Regions from separate parts of the Homo sapiens genome. Here region 2 is linked to region 1. Evidence: promoter capture Hi-C in 16 types of primary human blood cells and fetal thymus (Javierre and others, 2016). All regions are on one chromosome and are shown on one strand. The core of a region is centred on a gene start or on the middle of the fragment in contact, and the rest is flanking DNA. Distances in the headings are between cores, read along the strand shown.

Evidence for each region. Contacts are between HindIII fragments. The CHiCAGO score rates a contact against its expected background, and 5 or more counts as called.
Region 2: a contact is called between a fragment that was not itself captured here and the fragment with the promoter of TUT4 in region 1, in 1 of 17 cell types (naive B cells). The highest score is 5.9, in naive B cells.

The regions. Positions count from the first base shown.
Region 1 is chr1:52,551,695-52,554,575 of GRCh38, forward strand. TUT4 (terminal uridylyl transferase 4) reads right to left here and starts at 1,398. Exons shown (of 30, transcript NM_001009881.3): 1 at 1,237-1,398. LOC105378723 (a long non-coding RNA gene) reads left to right here. Exons shown (of 4, transcript XR_007066083.1): 4 at 547-1,143. RefSeq lists silencers at 1,011-1,340, 1,411-1,540, 1,581-1,690, 1,701-2,100. The HindIII fragment of the contact is 23,021 bases long and covers 1-2,881 here.
Region 2 is chr1:52,660,356-52,663,236 of GRCh38, forward strand. It overlaps a transcript of SHISAL2A not described here. Among named protein-coding and RNA genes, the nearest start is that of SHISAL2A, 29 kb to the left of the region's middle. RefSeq lists a silencer at 2,602-2,881. The HindIII fragment of the contact is 3,239 bases long and covers 1-2,881 here.

The DNA.
Region 1 (2,881 bases), core at 148-2,647:
CACATACACACACACACACAAAGTCGGCTTTTCTTTTTAAACCATCCCACAATTCAACACCTCTCGGTGGTATTCTCTGAATTATCATATCTGGCTGGGATTATCCAATTTTATTAGCTAACAGTTCTCATTACTTTAAAAACAGAAACAGGATATGTTCTGTTTCATCAAGTGCTACAAACATTTCGCTGCTGTAAGACTGGAGGGAAAAAATCTTTGGAAATAAAAGGCCATCTGATCCACTCGGGCTAATTACTAAATGCATGCCAACAATACACAATTCGAATTGCATTTCTGGACACAATTTAAGATCACGATAGGGCAGGTCAAATGTGTAAGGAACTACTACTTCTATCAAAATGAAGAAGCAGATATACGGTATCTAAGATCTCACGCAAAATTCATCTAAGACTTCGAAATCTTCTGAAAAGAAAATGTGTAATCAACGTTGTTAATACAACAGTAATTCATCCCATTCAAGTACGACTAGAAATCCCGCTGATGTGCTTCTTTCAGGTCTAAACATCTCATTCTTTCGCAATCCAGATACCAACAGGAGTCTGAAACCCTTCGCAGAGGCGTGCAACACACTAGGAGAGCGCTATCTGTTTACAAATACGAATCTCAGTTACCCACGTCAAAACCGCGCATTACCACCTTTCGACTGGGGGGCGGGGGAGAGAGAAGGCGGGCGAGCAAGAAACAAAATCCACACAGACACCTCTGCCTTCTCCCTACAAGGACGAGCCCGGGGAAACATTCAGTATGTATTATATGCGTGTATACATTTATATACATTATGTAGTCACCTATGTCTAAGCAAGGGTGAAAGAAAAAGGTACACATGACAGGGAATCGTAACTGGACCCAACAGAAATGTTCAAACCAATCCCGTTAACTCAAAATCCGCCCCGCTGGTCTACAACAGGTTTCGGTCCGGGACCGGGAGCCCCAGCCACAGTGTGGAGTTCGTCCCCAAAGCGCCCCAATGCCCTCCTCAGGCCGCCCAGGCCGCCGTCCCCACCTCCCTTATCTCAGCCTTCCCCTGGGACACCCGAAGCCCGTTCCAGGAAAGAAAGAAGTGTCAGGCCCCCAGGGGGCGGCTGAGACGCTCTCAGGCCAGGCCCCCGACACCTGCGAAGCGCGGCACCTGGGGAGGGCGAACCGGGGGCCGCCCGGCCTTCCCGAGCACACCCCCTCGGTACCCGACGCTGCCCCGCGGCCGGAACCTCGTACCTGCGAGGCCCGCGAGCTACAGGCGCGCGCGACGCCTCCTCATCTCAGTGGCTCCTGCTCTCCCTCCGCCTCCTGCTGCCGCCGCCGTCGCCGCTGCCGCCGCTGGAGGCCGGGACACGACTAGCTCAGGACTCCACCGCCATGTCCGCCGCGCCGCGAACTGCATTGTGGGGGGGAAGGGATGGGGAGGGGGAGGAGGAGGGAGAGGGAGAGGGAGAGAAAGAGGAGGACCCGCTGAGGGGAGGGGGCGAGGGAGAGCGGTTGCCGGGGGAGAGGGGGAGGGGAGAGGACAGAGCCTGTAATGGGGTCCTGGCCCGGGAGAGGAGGAGCTACGCGCAGAGGGAAGGGTTCAGGGGTGCCCCCTCCCTTCGTTCGGGGGGCCCCACAGGCACCGTTTACACCGGGGCGGGGGAGGGGGGAAACAGCACTGGGGGGAGGGGTCTCGTGGTGGCCGCGAAGAAACAATGGGGAGAAGGCCGAGGTAGGAGGATCGCGCACTCACACCCACGCGGAGGGAAGGGAGCGCGCGAGAGACACTCGTTAGCTCGCGAGGAGGGGGCGGGCCGCTGGCAGAGGGGAGGAGGGAGCCACCCGGGGCTCGCGGGCAGGGGCGGGGCCGCCGAGCGGAGGTCGCGAGGTCCCGCAGCCCGCCTGGGCGCCGCGGGTTAGCCGCGCTGATTCGCCCGCTTGCCGGAGTGGGTGGGGGTGGCGGGCGCCCCAGTGCTGCCCCAGTCTGGTTCCTAGTCTCTGCCGAGGCCCCCGAGCTGGAAGCCGAGCCCGAGGGCCGCCTCGGCGCCTCGCTCCCAAGGCTGCTCCCCCTGGGGAGGAAGGCCGGCCTGGAATGGGTACCCTCTGGCCTGGCACTCGGACTGGGCGTGGCCCGAGCCTCGGCGGACCCTCGGAAGCCCAAGCGGGCTTCGGAGCAACGGTAGGGAGCGGGGCAGAGGAAGCCGCCAGGGTCGACCCCCACCCACTCACCACGGCCTCCAGCCCACCGCAGCTGGACCTTTTTTCCTTTGAAAAGGCAGGCAGTTCAGGAATGAAGGAGCTCGAAGAGAAATCTCTGGAGCACTCCATCTCCCACCCCCAAAAGAGGTTTTAGAAATCATTTCTTTAGCTGCAGGCGGGCATAAAACCATCTACCATCAATGGGCCCCCTCATCCCCTTGCTTTTAACGTATTACATTCCTCTACATAATTATTTAAAGTCACGGGCGGAACGGACTTAAGGTTTTGTTAGTTTTGTTTTTTGTTGTTTTTTTTTAAGACCCCAGCCTCAGAGATTATTTAGCCAATCTCTGACCTCAAAGCTGGACAAAGCACACAACCTCTGTGCTCTGTGCCCAGTCCTTTGAGTTTGACACATGCTAGGCAGGAAAAAGGTATGAAAAGAGTGGACGTAGAGGTGAAGGGAAGATGTTAAATCTTAAGTATTTACAAGATAGTGCCTTATAAATTTTCTTATAATGTGACTCAGGCTGGGACTGGTTAGAGGTCACAGAGGGACGCTCCACTTCACGATAGCCCTGTGAGTTACGTACTGTTGCTCTCATTTACGGATGAAAAAACTAGGGTTCAGAGTTAGTGCATTTTACCCCAATCTGGCTGATGCTACAAGGCCCAGGTATAATGGATAGAGGACTGG
Region 2 (2,881 bases), core at 178-2,677, 110 kb after region 1:
GCTCAGAGCCGGCTGTCACTGGGGTTGGCTAGTCTGGGTCCTGCATTAGAAACAAACTGCCCACCCTGTGTGATAGGAGCCCCTCCCCCAGGGCAGCCGCAGTGGGAGGATGCTGGGTGGGCTGATACGCAGACAGAAATAGTCTGAGCTCACCGCTGTTCCCAAGCACACATCGACCGGCAATTATTTCTTGTAAATTGCTTTCCCGGTTATGTTCAGAACATGTGTGTGTGCCTGCCTGAGAACAAACACTCAGAGGGCACAGGGCGGAGGAGCTAGCTGGAGAGTGGGCTTCGGATGGAGGGGAGTGAATCTTCAGCCCAGAATTAGAGAATGTTGAATCTTGGAACTTGGAAACGTTAGAACATTCCACTCCCCTTTACAGCTATCCTGCTAGGTGTTTTTTTCTCAGACGTTCACATTTGTTTGTCCATTCAACATTGATTGACAATGATTTTCTGCCAGAATCTTGGCTAAATGAGGTCCCGATCCCTATCTTCAAGAAGCTCATTGCTACAGGCATTTACAAAAGATCCCTAATCTAGCCAAAGACTTTGGGAAGGCCTCCTGGAGTAAGCAATAACTGGATTAAGTTTAAAGGACCCACTGACAGGTGAAAGGAGGTTTCTGGTACAAGATGAGGAACAGCATTTAAGGCAGAAGGAACAGCATACATGAAGACCTATGGCTAAGAGAGACCATATGGTTCTTTCAGGTAACAATAAGTAGTTCAGTTTGGGTAGACACAAGGTGGGAATGGTGAAAGATGAAGCTGGAAGGGTAGACGAGCCAAGTCCTGAAGCCTTTGCCATATTAAGGGGCTTGGTCTTTATCCCGAGGGCAAAAGGGAGCCACAGGAAAGGGTTTCAAGCATGGAAAGGAACTCGACAACACCTTTTGTGAGCACTTGCTTCCTGTTCTCTGTAACATTGAAGTGAAATTTGCCATTCAGGATCTCTGCCTTTGGGGCCCTTTGGTTGCAGATCCTTCAGAAGTCTAAAGGACAGTGATGTCTCATGTATCCACAAGAAATGACTTGGGCCCTAGACATCTGTCCTCCGGTCAGGGGGAGGCCATTCTACTGCCTGACTGACTCATGACACTGCTCCTCCTGATCTGTGCCTGTTGGCTCAGGGGCCAGGGCACAAGACAGCCAAAGCCAGGCTGCAGGCCACAGCCCAGGAGAGCTCCATGCCTTGCTCGGTCCCAGAACCCTGGGTCCCACCTGGGAAGTCTCGTGTGTGGAACACTCACAGGGGTGTGAAGGGCTCCTTGCATACCTTCTCCATCCCTCACAGGATCAAGGCCACCCAGAGCAGATGACCCACTCTGAGAGAGTTGACTGAAGACACACTGTGGGCCCACCACTGTGACAAGCCCTTAGAATAGAATACGGCCGGGCATGGTGGCTCACAGCTATAATCCCAGCACTTTGGGAGGCCAAGGAGGGCGGATAACCTGAGGTCAGGAGTTCCAGACCAGCCTGGTCAACATGGTGAAACCCCGTCTCTACTAAAAATACAAAAAATTAGCCAGGCATGGTGGCAGGTGCCTGTAATCCCAGCTACTCGGGAGGCTGAGGCAGGAGAATCGCTTGAACCCAGGAGGAGGAGGTTGCGGTGATCTGAGATTGCGCCACTGCACTCCAGCCTGGGTGACAGAGCAAGACTCCGTCTCAAAAAAAAAAAAATAATAATAATCCTGCAACCCCGCCCTTCAGGCCTTACTTACTAGAGATGAAGAGTAGGTTTGACCCGTGAAACCCCTAGAGAACAGTCAGAGAGAGATCCCAAACAAATGCCAAGATGTGGGGTAAGGACCATTAGAGTTGCAAAGATTCTAAGGCAGGAGAAAAGAAACAGTCTGGAAGCCTTCATGGAGGAAGCAGGGGTTGAACTTAATCTTGATGGACCATGGCAATACTTGAAGGGTCTCATCCAGGTAGAGGAAGCATTCTATCCTGTCAACTTTCTATTTTATTTTATTTTATTTATTTATTTATTTATTGAGACAGAGTCTTGCTCTGTCACCCAGGCTGGAGTGCGATGTCTCAATCTCAGCTCACTGCAACCTCCACCTCCCGGGTTCAAGTGATTCTCCTGCCTCAGCCTTGTGAGTAGCTGGGATTACAGGCCCCTGCCAATATGCCCGGCTAATTTTTTTTTTTTTTTTTTAAATAAAGATGGGGTTTTACCGTGTTGGCCAGGCTGGTCTTGAACTCCAGACCTCAAGTGATCTGCCCACTTAGGCCTCCCAAAGTGCTGGGATTACAGGCGTGAGGTACCGCCCCCCCACCCTTTCTGTTTTAAAGAGAGTACCCCTTAGGGCTCCAAGGGCTCTGGACAAGTAGATCTCTCTAGCCCCACCTTCAGCCATAGTCCGCTAACCAACAGACTATCTTTTGTGTGCCAGGTCTTGTCCTGGGCTCTAGGAACAAAGAAATGAATCAGTCATAATTCCTGCCCTCAGGGAATTCTCAGGCTACTGGAGGAAGACTGCTAGGTTAAATAGACAGTTAAATACACTGTGGAAAGTGCCATGGTTTGTTTATTCAAGCACAGGGCAAAATCACTACTTGTCCAGCACAGAGGGCTGCTGTCGTGCAGCCAGCCTTATCTCCAAGGAGGCCTTTCTCCGGGAAGTAGGGAGCTTCATTGTGAAACCTTCATCTTCTAAACCTCCAGCTCCGGGTTCTCAAGCCCCGCCTTCTCTCCTGGCTGCTGTAGGTTACCATGGAAGCCGTAAGCCCCTCGCAGCTCCCTGCGGTTCCACACCCCTCCCTCTTCTCCATCTCTCTTAGCTCTTTGTCCTGTGGCTGCAGATGTCCTCCCGGGCTGATCAACTCCCGAACTTTCCCCAGGGTGAGAATTATTATCCCCAT